2 separate regions of the Homo sapiens genome follow, and region 2 is linked to region 1. The links are contacts of gene promoters, found by promoter capture Hi-C in blood cells and fetal thymus (Javierre and others, 2016). All regions are on one chromosome and are shown on one strand. The core of a region is centred on a gene start or on the middle of the fragment in contact, and the rest is flanking DNA. Distances in the headings are between cores, read along the strand shown.

What was found. The method cuts DNA at HindIII sites, captures the fragments that hold promoters and counts their contacts. A CHiCAGO score of 5 or more calls a contact.
Region 2: a contact is called between a fragment that was not itself captured here and the fragment with the promoter of CCNA1 in region 1, in 1 of 17 cell types (M2 macrophages). The highest score is 6.1, in M2 macrophages.

The regions. Positions count from the first base shown.
Region 1 is chr13:36,427,882-36,435,542 of GRCh38, forward strand. CCNA1 (cyclin A1) reads left to right here and starts at 4,614. Exons shown (of 9, transcript NM_001413923.1): 1 at 4,614-4,848; 2 at 5,152-5,340. The coding sequence starts at 5,176. RefSeq lists silencers at 3,918-3,987, 4,268-4,317, 4,348-4,507. The HindIII fragment of the contact is 15,627 bases long and covers 1-6,525 here.
Region 2 is chr13:36,303,151-36,310,811 of GRCh38, forward strand. It overlaps SPART (spartin), which reads right to left. Exons shown (of 9, transcript NM_015087.5): 9 at 1-1,482. The coding sequence ends at 1,215. Among named protein-coding and RNA genes, the nearest start is that of CCDC169-SOHLH2, 9.2 kb to the left of the region's middle. The HindIII fragment of the contact is 1,745 bases long and covers 2,620-4,364 here.

The sequences.
Region 1 (7,661 bases), core at 3,364-5,863:
TGCCTCCAAGTCTTCCCAGCAACATACCTTGTTTCTTTTCTCTTAAGCTCCAACTGCTCCCCCTTTATACATCTGTATTCCTTATGGTAAAATAAACACTAATTATGCTGCACCATGACTATCTGTTATTTTTCCTTGCCTGGAGGAACAGCTCCTTGAGGGCAGGGATCATTTTTTATTATCGTACTCATACCCAGCTACTGCCTGGCATACAATGGATGCTCAAAAAACTTTGCCAAATGAATGAATGAACAGTAGACTTTGTCTAATCTCATGTATGTATTCATACCATTTTCACTTGGAGAAGGTGACTTCTTACAAGTCTTAATGAAAACTTACTTCACCCATTATGTACTAAGGGATCCACGTTTCACTACCTGATGAAATATGCTTCTTAAGGTGTGTACAGTTTTGGCTGCTTTTCAAGCTGGACTTGCTCAATCCGTTAGTCATCTTCCCTGGAGCTAAGTGCTAAAATGTCACAAATTGCAGCTGGTTCCTTGTTTCTTTCCAACATATATCTCTCATTTTACTGTTCAAACTATGTTCTTAGTTAAATGTATACCTGAGAATGACAGAGGCATGTTATGAAGAGGCAACATATGTCCCTAAATGGACCTCTGTCCCTAAATAAACTTGGCGGGTTTTTTTTTAAATCTTTCTTTCAGCCTCATCCTGAAAAACAACCTGATTTCATACTAATTAATAAAAACTGAAATGTTTCAACAGGAGGTTAATTACTAGCTAGGATGAACAAATGCAATAGAAAAACTGCCTCTGAAATACCGGGTAATTGCTGACAAACTGAAAGGACTGTCTGAATTGTAATTTGGACAAGGGAATTGATTTTAATAGGACTTTTGGGTTTTAAAAATTCCTAGTAAAGGGCCGGGCACGGTGGCTGACGCCTGTAATCCCAGCACTTTGAGAGGCCGAGGCAGGCAGATCACGAGGTCAGGAGATCGAGACCATCCTGTGTAACATGGTGAAACCCCGTTTCTACTAAAAATACAAAAAAAAAATTAGTCGGGCCTGGTGGCGGACGCCTGTAGTCCCAGCTACTTGGGAGGCTGAGGCAGGAGAACGGCGTGAACCTGGAAGGCGGAGCTTGCAGTGAGCCGAGATCACACCACTGCACTCCAGCCTGGGTGAGAGCGAGACTCCGTCTCAACAACAACAACAACAAAATTCCTAGTAAAGAATTCAGCTGTCATCCTTATTTTGAAAATTAATCCTAGAGTTAAAGCTAGTTGAGCATTCACTGCCAGGTTGGAAGTGCCGACCAATGAACTTTTTAAGTTAAAAAAAAAGGGGTTATATTAGTATTTAAGTTATGCCAAATATTTTAGATATTAAAGAAAGTTGTATTTACAATTATATTGTTTAATTCTCAATATATTACCAAATATATAGTTTATTTAAAGATGGGAAAAATTAAAATCTACTTATGTTTGAGTTCTAATCCTATTTTGCTATGCAAATCTAATCCTGATTTGCATAGCAAAATCAAGATTAGATTATAATGTTGCTAAATGCAACATTATAATTATGCATTCCACTAAAACTGTGCAATTTGTGAGAAAGTCCTTTCTACTCTCTCTGCTCCTTTTGTTCTTAATTCTAAGGCCAAGTTTTTAGTTTAGATTTTTAAAGTAAAAATGGAACACCTATTCAGTTAAATTTGTTTTTATGTCATAAATCATTACTCGTTGGAACACAATATTCAGTGAAGACTTTTTTTTTTTTTTTGATATGGAGTCTTGCTCTGTCACCAGGCTGGAGTGCAGTGGCATGATCTGGGCTCACTGCAACCTCTGCCTCCCGGGTTCAAGCTACTCCCCTGCCTCAGCCTCCTGAGTAGCTGGAACTACAGGCGCGCGCCACCACGCCCAGCTACATTTTGTATTTTTAGCAGAGACAGGGTTTCACCATGTTGGCCAGAATGGTCTCGATCTCTTGATCTCGTGATTCGCCTGCCTCGGATTCCCAAAGTGCTGGGACTACAGGCGTACGCCACCGTGCCCGGCCTCAGTGTAGATATTTTTTAAAGCCAAGAAAGCCATAAGTATTGCACAAGTTATACACGTACCTGAATTTACATGCACACATAGATATCAGTTCATGGGACTCACTCTCCTGTTTAAGATATGACCAGAGGCTTGTAACGACAATGTAGAATTCTAAGACAGCACAATAAAACAATCATAAACTAACCACTTCCCTTTGCCAAGTTTAGCAAAGTGGATGGAACAGGAAAAAAGATGTTCATGATAATCCTATTTCATATAGATTAAGGCTGGATTAAGGTGCAGCCATTCAGATAAGGGGAGGGGTATTAAATTATCCGAAGGTCTCATTTGGTTACTATTATTTCTTAAGGCTTTTTTAAGGCTAAAGACGGCTGAAAGTCACTGGACACCTTTGTAGCCTTGTCATCTGGTCCTGGCCAGATCTGAGTTGAGAAAAACCAGCCTCAGATCCGCCTCTGCAGGAGTTGGGCGCTCCCCACTCCCTGCACGCCCCGACTCCAACACTGGCTTCAGCTTCAATCCCAGAAAAGTGGATCAAAACGACAGGTTCCACGAACAAACACTGCGCCGGCGCCTCTACTTTGGAGAAAAGGAAAAGGGCGTGAGGTTTCGGTCATTTTTGTCAAAGGAAATCAGATGAAAAGGGGTGTACAAAGGACCAGGTCTCGTGAGCGCAGCCAATCTTGTCCGCTCCCAAGCGACTCAGGCTCTTGGCAGGACTTGCTGTAGAGTCCCAGACGGAGTTAGCCACTGAGTCCTTCAGCGACCCAGGAAATAACAACACTGTTGGCAGGTGGGGGAGGGCGCCCGGGAAGATATCCAATAGTGGCGTCAGGCAAGAGGACAGAAATGCTCCTTTCATTCACCTTTCGAAGCAGAGCATTTGGTCCCCGTTGGCCTCTGACTCTCTGTTGCGGCAATCTAGATGTTACCAGAATTCCCGTGTTTCCTTCATATTCAAAGGCACAGGAAATCTGGGGTGCAAGCGGACTGCTGTCTCTCAAGGAATAGAAGTCTGTGACAAACGTATAGAAATGAGTTTCATGTTGAACAAGATCCGTTTCTGCGTTCCTCCCTCATCCAGCCTTGATTCTCCAGATGCTTACCAACTTCTTAATATTTACCTCAACTGCAAGGCTTTCAACCGGCGCTTTTGTTAGAATACTACTATCTTCCCATTAAAGCAATGTCCACACTCAGTTTGCTTGGTGAAAATGTTAATAACGCACACTTAGAAAAACGGTGATAACCGTTGCTTGCATAAAGTGGCCATTTGAATAGACTTTGGATCTGATTTAGAGATTTAGGGATGGATGTTTTAAAAAAAGCAAAAGTAGTAACAGACTATAGCATTGGTAATGTGTGTGTGCATATATACATATTATTTTTAAAAAAATAAAGTTCGATTATTTCACCTGGCTTGTCAGTCACCTATGCAGGCGTCTGAGCCCCCGGGTTTCCAGGAGCCCCCCGTATAAGGACCCCAGGGACTCCTCTCCCCACGCGGCCGGGCCGCCCGCCCGGCCCCCAGCCCGGAGAGCTGCCACCGACCCCCTCAACGTCCCAAGCCCCAGCTCTGTCGCCCGCGTTCCTTCCTCTTCCTGGGCCACAATCTTGGCTTTCCCGGGCCGGCTTCACGCAGTTGCGCAGGAGCCCGCGGGGGAAGACCTCTCGTGGGGACCTCGAGCACGACGTGCGACCCTAAATCCCCACATCTCCTCTGCCGCCTCGCAGGCCACATGCACCGGGAGCCGGGCGGGGCAGGCGCGGCCCGCAAGGACCCCCGCGATGGAGACGCAACACTGCCGCGACTGCACTTGGGGCAGCCCCGCCGCGTCCCAGCCGCCTCCCGGCAGGAAGCGTAGGTGTGTGAGCCGACCCGGAGCGAGCCGCGCCCTCGGGCCAGCGTGGGCAGGGCGCCGCAGCCTGCGCAGCCCCGAGGACCCCGCGTCGCTCTCCCGAGCCAGGGTTCTCAGGAGCGGGCCGCGCAGGAGACGTTAGAGGGGGTTGTTAGCGGCTGTTGGGAGAACGGGTCACGGAAACAGTCCCTTCCAAAGCCGGGGCCATCGTGGGGTGGGCGAGTCCGCCCTCCCAGGCCGGGGGCGCGGACCAGAGGGGACGTGTGCAGACGGCCGCGGTCAGCCCCACCTCGCCCGGGCGGAGACGCACAGCTGGAGCTGGAGGGCCGTCGCCCGTTGGGCCCTCAGGGGCCTGAACGCCCAGGGGTCGCGGCGAGTCCACCCGGAGCGAGTCAGGTGAGCAGGTCGCCATGGCGATGCGGCCCCGGAGAGCGCACGCCTGCCGCGGTCGGCATGGAAACGCTCCCGCTAGGTCCGGGGGCGCCGCTGATTGGCCGATTCAACAGACGCGGGTGGGCAGCTCAGCCGCATCGCTAAGCCCGGCCGCCTCCCAGGCTGGAATCCCTCGACACTTGGTCCTTCCCGCCCCGCCCTTCCGTGCCCTGCCCTTCCCTGCCCTTCCCCGCCCTGCCCCGCCCGGCCCGGCCCGGCCCTGCCCAACCCTGCCCCGCCCTGCCCCGCCCAGCCGGCCACCTCTTAACCGCGATCCTCCAGTGCACTTGCCAGTTGTTCCGGACACATAGAAAGATAACGACGGGAAGAGCGGGGCCCGCTTTGGGGTCCAGGCAGGTTTTGGGGCCTCCTGTCTGGTGGGAGGAGGCCGCAGCGCAGCACCCTGCTCGTCACTTGGGATGGAGACCGGCTTTCCCGCAATCATGTACCCTGGATCTTTTATTGGGGGCTGGGGAGAAGAGTATCTCAGCTGGGAAGGACCGGGGCTCCCAGATTTCGTCTTCCAGGTAACGTGGGTTTAGTATCCCGACTTGGAGGCTTGTCAGAATGTTTCTCTCCTTCCAGCCCAACACGAAGTCTTGGGATAAAAAGCCTCCCTCAGGGATTCAAATAACTGTTTTGATTCAGAGCAACTTTGATCGCCTGTGCGGTCGCACCTGCCCTTTCAGCCCCAATAATTACTGGGAAGATCAGCAATTGGTGTTAGTCCCATTGCTTGGTGCTCTCCCTCCTAGAGGTTCGCTGTGTCCTTGGAGCCCGGGGTGGACGGAATCGACTAAACAGCTTGTCTGTTTCTCTTTCCCTGGTAGCAGCAGCCCGTGGAGTCTGAAGCAATGCACTGCAGCAACCCCAAGAGTGGAGTTGTGCTGGCTACAGTGGCCCGAGGTCCCGATGCTTGTCAGATACTCACCAGAGCCCCGCTGGGCCAGGATCCCCCGCAGAGGACAGTGCTAGGGCTGCTAACTGCAAATGGGCAGTACAGGAGGACCTGTGGCCAGGTAATGACTCAGACGCATTGAGAATGATGCTTGTGGAGAACAGCTCTCCTGCTTTGGTGCCAGGTGCTTTTCTCTTGCCCTTGTACCTACAACTCCCCCTGAGTATTACAACCCTGGAATCTGGACTACAGGAAAGTTGATTGATTTATTTTCTTTCTTTCTTTCTTTCTTTCTTTCTTTCTTTCTTTCTTTCTTTCTTTCTTTCTTTCTTTCTTTCTTTCGTTCTTTCTTTCTTTCTTTTCTTTCTCTTTCTTTCCTTCTTTCTTTTTCTTTGTTTCTCTTCCTTCTTCCTTTCCTTTTTTTTTCTTTCCTTTCCTTTCCTTCTTTTTTTTTTTTTGAGACGGAGTTTCGCTCTTGTCGCCAGGCTGGAGTGCAGTGACGCGATCTCGGCTCACTGCAACCTCCACCTCCCGGGTTCAAGCGATTCTCCTGCCTCAGCCTCCCGAGTAGCTGGGATTTCAGGCACCCACCACCACGCCCGGCTAATTTTTGTGTTTTTAGTAGAGATGGGATTTCACCATGTTGGCCAGGCTGGTCACCAACTCCTGACCTCAGGTGACCCGCCCACCTCGGCCTCCCAAAGTGTTGGGATTACAGGCGTCAGCCACGGTGGCAGGCCAGTTGATTTCTTAAGATCACCTTGAGGGGTTCGGTTTTCAGCTAGAAATAGTGATTAGTTTTCTTTGTTATTTTTTCCACTATCAAGGAAATAGGTCTAGGAACTGTTTGGGTTATGTATATTAAAGTAATTTAAGGGCTGGGCTAAAAGGAAATGTGAATGCTTCCAAATAAACTGTGGAACTGGGGTTCCTCCAGGTTAGAGCAGTGTTCACATTGATGCAGGCTGTGCCTAAAGCAAACCTGGATAATCTTGGCTGTGTTCATTGCGGATAGTGTTAAAATCAGGATTAGATCAGGCTAGATTAGATTACTCCAAAATGGGTGCTTTGAAGGCAGACATCTTCCCAGTACTGACTAAGCAGCTATGCTAACAGGTAATGGTCCCTCAGATATTAGTTGTGTGAACTTAACTGATCATAGATACCTTAACCAGACTGAAAACTATACCTTTCCTATTTCATAAGTGAGAAAATCTGAAAGGTTTAAGCCTCTGCCAAAAGAAAGCTATGGTAGAAACTAGATTAGAAGCCTCTCATCTACTGACTCTTCACATGCTCTGTTCAAAGCTTTGGAGAAAATTGAGTGGAAGTGGTTTTAACAAATTTTAATTTGCTTAGCAATGTTTGCTTTTTAAAACTTAACGCCTGAGACTTGGTTCTTATGAATTGTCAGTTGTGCCTGTGTTGAATGGTCGCATTTTAAATTCCCAGTTGCTAACCTCTTATGTTACCTGGTGCCACTTCTGCATTTCCCTGTACCTATCCTCTACAACCTGCTTAGAAATCTATTTTGTACCTTCCCTTCTCTGTTTAATCCTCAGTAACCTCCTCCTTCATGCCCAGTCTCAGCTGATCACTTTGTATCTTATTTTCCTAAAAATATAGAAGCAAGCAGAAGAGAATCTCCACATGTCCCTGTGTGCCATATAATCTGCCATCTACATCCTGTTATGTGACTGCTATGTCCCTGCTGTCATGAGAGGTGCCCCCCCCCCCGCGCCATGCGTACAATATACTCGTGTCTTCTTGCTTCTTCAAGGATGTTACTCTAGCCACTTTTCTTTCTCTCATGAGTTTTTTCTTTTCTACTGGGCCAAATCTGTAAGCATACAAATATATTGCCATTTTCCCATCTTAAAAACCTTTCAACTAAACGCTCCCTCTGAGTATTACAACCCTGGAATCTGGACCACAGGGAAGAAGTTGACTTTGTAAAATCACCTTGACCGGTCCCTTTTTCAGCTAGAAATGGTGACGAATTTTCTTTGTTAGTTTTCCAATATCAAGGAAATAGGTCTAGGAGCTGTTTGCATTATGTCGATTAAAGTAATTTAAGTGCTTAAAGAAATTTAAGTAATGGGACAGAAGCTATCCCATTTAAAGCCACATATCTTGAGAGTTTGTCGTATCTTGACATATATAATGTTGCCTTTCCCACTAACATGTAAGCTCCATCCAGGTGTTGATTTAGGTTGTCATGTTCACTGTTGTGTGTCCATTACTTTGAACAGACCTGGGCCTGGCCAGGATGGCACACATTGTTTGTTGGATGAATGTTCTCTGTCTCTAGTTCTTTTCCTGCTCTATTTGGACTCAATTCATAGTCTTTTCCTTCCTCGACTGATCAGCATTATTTGACATGGCTGATCATTATTTTTTCCTTGAAATAATTTCTTCTCATTCAGCTTGTAGAACACCACT
Region 2 (7,661 bases), core at 2,242-4,741, 130 kb before region 1:
AGTTTTTTAATTCATAAAGTGCATTCTTCAGACAGCTTCAAATAATGTCTAATTAAGTAGCCACTAGAAGATCAGAAATTATTAGAATGGACTACAGCTATGAAAACTAATACCAATCTCTTAAATTCAATAAACAAAAATTAAATACCATTAGGTATTTAGTTACATAGTTTTTTAGCCTATGTAAGTAAATAGGGCTGTGAATAGTCTGCCTTCTGCCAAAGTGGAAACCATAATGCCTATCCACCATGGATTACGTCTAAGGTTTTCATATTCTTTACCCTGATTATGAATAGAACCTTTCCTTTTTAATAACTTGTCTTTTAATATAAATTCCAATGACCGAATCCCAGAATAAAAATGTTTACCATTAGTAAACTCAATTGTTTATATATATTTTTTTTACAAGTTTTAACCTTTTGGAAAAACAGAAGCAGATATGATAAAATAATTTCTTGAAGTACTTTTTTAATCCAATTAAGCTGATAATAATCACTTCGAATTTTAATACAATACAATCATGTTCCCAAATTTCCTAGGCTCATAACAATACAGTCTCAATACAAAAGACGTAATAATCTATTTTTATTTATTTTAAATCAAAGAGACCATTCCATTTCCTAACAAACAGGTAAGTTACAAAAGTAGTCCATTTTACTTTTCATCAGTCTTTCCCTGTTTTGAACAAGTTTTTTTGAGAATTCTTAGTTTTAGTTTTTGTTTAGCTTACACACTGAAAATTTTGAGAAGCATCTAAAAAAATCCACAATTAGTGCAAAAAGAGGGGACAATACTTTAAGTCATTCCTTCTATAAAAAGAATTAAGGTTACTAAATGCCAATTTTTAAGCAAATATATAGTTTCCTATTTGCCTTCTGAAAGACAGCAGATATAAAAATAGTTCAATATTAGGTTTAACAAGGTTTGAACAACACATGTACTATCAGCTTTATTTTACCTGCAAAAATATTTTAGCTACACTTGGAAAAAAATAAACTTGAGAATATAACTTCACATTTCTAAGGCCAGATGCAAGAATACTTATTCTTTTCCTTTTAAATAGAAGACATGCCATAAAATTTATGAAAGTTAATTTGTAGGAATGAATACATTTAAAAAATACTGGTTAATCTGTGAGGAATTCCACATTTGCCTATTTAACAAAATTTCATCCATTTCATAAGGCTTTGGTATAAGTGATTCCCAGCACTTCATCATTTATCTTTCTTCTTTGCCTCCTTTACTTCCTTCGTCTGCTCATCCTTCTCCCCTCTCACGTTGACATTTGCTGCTCCTTCTTGATTTTCCCTCTGAGAATTATCAACTATCTGATAGTCCTCAAGGAGAGTGTGTCCTGTTTGTGTTGCAGTTTTCTTCACCATTGCTTTGATACCAATGTTGTTAATATTGTAGGCAGTTACGCCAACATTGACCGCAGAATCCACCGCATGGTGGGTAGCTTCTCCTGCATTATATCCGTATCTTTAAAAGAAAGATTAGAGGACATACAATGAAACAATAAATATAAAATAAGGTCTTCTGAATTAGTATTAAATAAGTCAAATGATTACTGTGTTACCCCTGAAAGCAAAATTAAAGCTTAGGTTTCAATTTAATTAATAACTTAAAACACAGTAGAGAATGAAATCACACTCTGTGACAAAGCAGTATTTTCTCCTTTAGTAAAAACAGTGTGTGAAAATAAACTCAGACTAGCTGAGAATGATGTAATAAAGACTGTCAAGTAAAAATAAAAGTGTAAATTATAATACAGGTCATTAATCAGTCATTATTTCTTTTTTTAATCCTCCCTTTCTAGAAATATGAGGGAAAATATTCACAGAAGCAACTAATCTAGAGTCACGTAAGTAGTTTCAAGTTCTACCTTAACCAGACTTTGGCTATGTCTTTTAATTATGGGAATTTGAGTTAATCTTTAAACAGAGATTCTATGGCATTCTCCCCTGCATCCCACTCTACTGCACACTCACTGGCCTCCTTGCTGTTCCTTGAGCCCACCAAGCACTCAAAGGCCTTAGGACCTTTGTACTGGCTGCTCTCTGCTTGGACTTCCCATAGCTCTCTGCCTCACCTTCTTCAAGTTGGCTCAACTATAATCTCATTATCTAACCTGTTTAAATTGCCTTTTTCCACATGCCCACCTCCACCTCTTGACAATCGATTCCCCTTTACACTGCTTTTTTTCTCCCATTACTTACCACTTTCTACATACTATAGAACTTATTAATTATCACTGTTCATGTCTTGCTTCTCTCACTAGAATGTAAACCCTATTGGAGAGGAGAATCTTACCTTTGTCCTTTAACATATCCTAAACATTGAGAATAGTACCTGATATTCAATGAATATTCACTGAATGAATGAAATCAGTAATTCCTGCCCTATCTGCCTCAGAGTTTTTTGAGCATCAAATGCATAGCAAGTGCTTGGGAAATTATAAAGCATATACAAAAGAAGTTATTATTGATAATAATAATATCTGCATTTAATACTATTTCTATGATAAAATACAATTTGAGGTCCTATACAGGCACACCAAAACACATTTCCCTACTGTTTTGTTTTACTCTTTACCCCATTTTGGTAACAGGCTTTTAAAGCTTTTCTTGTCCACAGATTTCCCCCAAATAGAGGACTGTTTAAACAACAAACAAAACAAAGAGGCAAAAGTTTACATTTTCTCCAGGACACAGTGAAGTTTCCTAGATGCTTTATGACCTATATCTGGACATCTTATATAACACTAGATCTGCCTTTTGAATTAACAAGTCCTCTATTACTAAATAGCCTGGCCTAGAACAGTGGTTTGTGATCCCACCGGCTTGTTTGTGCTTGGCTTTTTTAACCCCAGTGTGAAATAATCTTATAGTGCCCCTAAAGGATGATTCTATTCTGTCCTTTGCCTAATGTTAATAATTATATTAGAGCTAGCACACAGCAGAGCCTAGTCTGTCAAACCTTCCAAGTCTGTACTACTCTTAATTGGGGGCCTTCTCACCAGTCAACAGACAGAAAAACTTCCTACAACTGCTTCGGACAGTCCCTGTTATGCAACCCCTCAGCATTCCACAGGATTTGCTGATAGTGCAGGAGATGCACCATTGCTGATGGTGCCTTCTCATTGTCAACCAAGCCCCAGTAACAAATACTACTGTCAGGTGGTAATGGCTGTGTCTATACAAAAAGAAAGGTATCAGCAGTTTCAGCACTGAAAAACAGTGACCGTAACTCTTGGTGGAGCCGGTTTCCCTGAGGGCTTATTTTTCCAGAACCATGTGAGCTACAATGAAGTGACACCATAACTCAACATAACTCACAACATAACTCACAGTCATGTTTTCAAGCATAGGAAATCCTCCATATTCACAAACTTCCACTTCTGAGAATTTGGAATGTTCCCTATTCCACTGATACAGTTTGATACCTCCAGCTGCACTCATATTTCTGTATGTAACACAGTTCTAAAAACTACATTGTCTTTAATAACGTACTAAAAATGAATTTGTTTTGCACCTTGTTAATTTTGTCTGTTTTTCTATGCTATCTCCAATGTCAGTAACAATTCCTATTAATTTGGGAAAAAAAAACAGAATATTCAGAAAACTAGATTCTAATGCCAACTATGCCAGTAACTAGCCATATGACCTTGGTCAAGTTTCTACCTCTTTACATATCATCAACTTTCTCTTCTTTATCTCAAAAAAACGATGTATATGTGTGAAAGCAGTTTTAAAATTCTAAAATACTAAACATGTATTTTTAAATATACTATAAAACAGCTTTTCATCAGTTGTATTTATTTTTTAATATATCCTCAACTATCACTCCTGCTTTCCAATATGCCTTAGAACTAGTTTTCCTAATAGGCATATGTTCTTTTCTTCATAAATAACTGTTTAGTCCTTTTCTTCAGATTCAAACTATACTGCTATAAACTCCTAGAAAGCATATGTCTGGGAGGAAGTTAAATTTATTTTTGATCTCTTATTTTTAAACAAATTTACTTTAATTAGAGCTCATTAAGTCGGATTTTATATACTAACACTACCAATTGAAAAATAATAAAAAATGAATGTGAAGTAGGCCTAAATAAGTCAACGAGATTCAAAACTACAATTGAACCAGATTTTTCTGAAATTTCTCCAATGTGTTCAGTTATACAAAACTGGTTTTGGGTAATATGACACCTGTCATTGAAGTTACCCCTTCATCCAGTGCAAATTTAGGAGGAATTTTAATTAAATTTCACTAAACAAACCAATAAATCAGCTACACTTAACTATAGCATAGTACCAAAAACCATAAAACAGTAAATTTTCTACAGGAAAAAAAGTCTATTATTAAGCTTATGTTCCACAAATATATATTCAAAGAAAATATTGCTGGGGAAAATAAAAATAGATCTAACTATCAAAGCTATATTATTATTCTTTAAACACTTTAAAGTGGAATAAAAGAAGCTTAAAGGTGAAACTTAAGCTTCATATGTAGAATGATGAATTATTGAATAGGTACTATACCGCAATTAAGTGTAGCAGGTTTAAAGTTACTTATTGTTTTTCATTATTCCTGTATGTCTTCACATCCCCAAATATAAGACAAAAGTATTAATGTAACTGACAAAAATAAACTGAATCTTAATGAATATTTTTTATGCATTTAGCTAAAAATTTTAAGAGTATAGTTATTTAATCCTTTGTACTGGCTTATCCACCTGAAATCAGATAAGGAAGTTTATATAATACATTTGGTTTTCTCCCAAGCATAAAATTAAAGGACATTTAAAATAACTATTTTGGAGAGCAATCGCTTATCACAGGCAATTAAGAACACAAATTTCCCTTATTATACTACCATCAGTTCGATTTGAGTACTCCACAAATGGTCATTCTATCAAATACTTTTTGATAGTAAACTTAAATACAGAAGAGTGTAAATAAACCTAAGTGTATGTAAACAAATAAGAACAAAATTAAACAAAGGTACAACAAGCTTTTCCATTTCTTCAGTTCTATCACTAAGTTATTACTGGTTCAATACTTTTAGTTTCTTCTCTTAAAAGACATTTTCTACTTTGGGCCAGATTAGCTCCAAAGGTGAGAAACAGTATTACTTAGATAAAATCTTTTATTCCCTACTGCCTCTCCCATCCTTCTAAATTTCTAATAGCAGAAACTAAATTACTGCTAAGACTGAATCATCCTCATAGTTAGAAATACAAAGCTACTTAACTAAATTCTCACTTACCTGGTTTTTATTTAAATTCCATGAATCTTTGGAAGAAAGGATAAAAAGAATAGCAATAATACAATAGAAATAAATGAGCTGAGAATCACTGTTAAAAATATGCTATTTATCATATTAAGTTCTCATTAAGGACCAGAAGTACAAAATCTACATTAAAATCCAGTATTTCCTAGTTATGTGAATCCCAAACTTTTAATAAGCTAATTGTAGTTAGGTAAGTTTTTTTTTTTTTTTTTCATTAGAGTAGGCCATAAAACCCAACAAAGCACTTCCTATTTTCTAATATGATAATCTAAAAATAATTCACTTTTGGCCTGAAAGGCATTTCTGAATTTCTCCTGTTCTTGCTACAAATAAAGAACTATTTTTCTAATTATGACTGATCCAAAGTAACCTCAGGGTCATAAAACAATGAATGAATATTAGAGTTCAGGCCACAGGTGACAAGAAGTGAGTTGGAAGACTTGAGTTTCATATTTCTATCAGAAGAATTTGAGATCTATTGTATGTTTTATCTCTCAACTCTTGGTAAAACTGATACTCTGGCCAGGTGTGGTGGCTCACGCCTGTAATCCCAGAACTTTGGGAGGCCGAGGTGGGCAGATCACGAAATCAGGTGATCAAGACCATCCTGGCTAACACAGTGAAACCCTGTCTGTACTGAACATACAAAAAATTAGCCGGTCATGGTGGCGGACACCTGTAGTCCCAGCTACTAGGGAGGCTGAGGCAGGAGAATGGTGTGAACCTGGGAGGCGGAGGTTGCAGTGAGCCAAGATTGCGCCACTGCACTCCAGCCTGGGTGACAGAGTGAAACTCCGTCTCAAAAAAAAAAAAAAAACTGACACTCCAAAATGATATGCCACATTGCTTTGATTTGATTCAAAGGTATGTATGTCCCAGAATGTAAACTAGTTCAGCCACTTTTGGGAGATATCTCAAAAAACTTAAAATGGAATTACCATTTGATACCCAAAAGAAAATAAACTGTTCTATCAAAAAGACACATGCACTCACTCACATGTTCACTGCACTATTCATAACAGCAAAGACATGGGATCAACCTAGGTACCCATCAACAGTGGACTGCACAAAGAAAACATGCTAATATATACACCATGGAATACTACACAGCCCTAAAAAAATGAAATCATATCCTTTGCAGCAACATGGATGCAGCTGGAGGCCATTATTCTAAGCGAATTAATGCAGGAACAGAAAACCACATGTTCTCACTTATAAATGGGAAATAAACACTGGATACTCATGGACATAAAGATGACAACAATAGACACTGGGGATTACTAGGCCGGGGAGGGAGGAGGGGAGTGTGAGCTAAAAGACCATCTATTGGGTACTATGCTTACTACCTGAGTGATGGGATCATTTGTACCCCAAACCTCAGCATCACACAACAAATTCTATGTAACAAGCCTGCACATGTACCCTTTAATCTATAATAATAGTTGAAATTATAAAAAAAGTAAAAATAAAGCAATTCCTACTTCCTATCTTAAAACAAACAAACAAATGTATTCATGCCCCAGACGGAGCAGATCGAACCAATTAAGGATGGAAATTAAATTAGCACTGTAGAGCACAGGTTCTGATGACAGAAACACTTGGTTTATATCCCAGCTCTACTATTCACTAGGAGAGTAATCTTTAACAAGGTATTTAACTTTACATTTCGGTTTCCTCATCTGCAAAATGGAGATAACAGTGTTGAAAATTAATTAATACGTAGGAAAAGCAATGATCACAGTGCCTAATACAAAAGTATGAACTCAACTAAATGCTGTCAATAAGTGGATAATTAACATAAATAACCACGAGTTGTGAATACTATCAATATTGCTCTTCTTTTTTCTTTCTAAATAAATAGTAAGATCCAAACTAATTCAAGGCTAAGAAAGCAACTCAGGTCCTTCATACTAGATTTATTTTTTAGACCTTGATTCTTCTAGTATTGTATAAAGAAAGTAGAGTCAGGTAGAAAGAATAAGGAGCTAAAAGCAGAAGACCCTGCTTTACTCTCACCTTCAATACCACTTGTATAAATTTGTTATATAGTTGTTGCTTCAGCATTTATTTTTAGGCCTGACATAAGTTGCTTGAAACCTAGTTGTATCCCACCACCTTTGGCCTAGTTAAAACTTCTCTCTCCCCCATGCGGTTGTCTGCAATACAGTATACTTGTTTCTCATCTCACTGACTCAAAACCCAACACACCCCCACAGCTGCTGACCACGAGAAAATCCAATGGTCAACACTAGAGTCATGTAAAACTAGAGCCATGTAAATGTTCCCCTGTTCACACTTGTTTTCTTTAAACTAGTCAATCCACAGGCCCCACTGGAAAGCCAAAGGAAGAACACCCATAGACTTTCGTG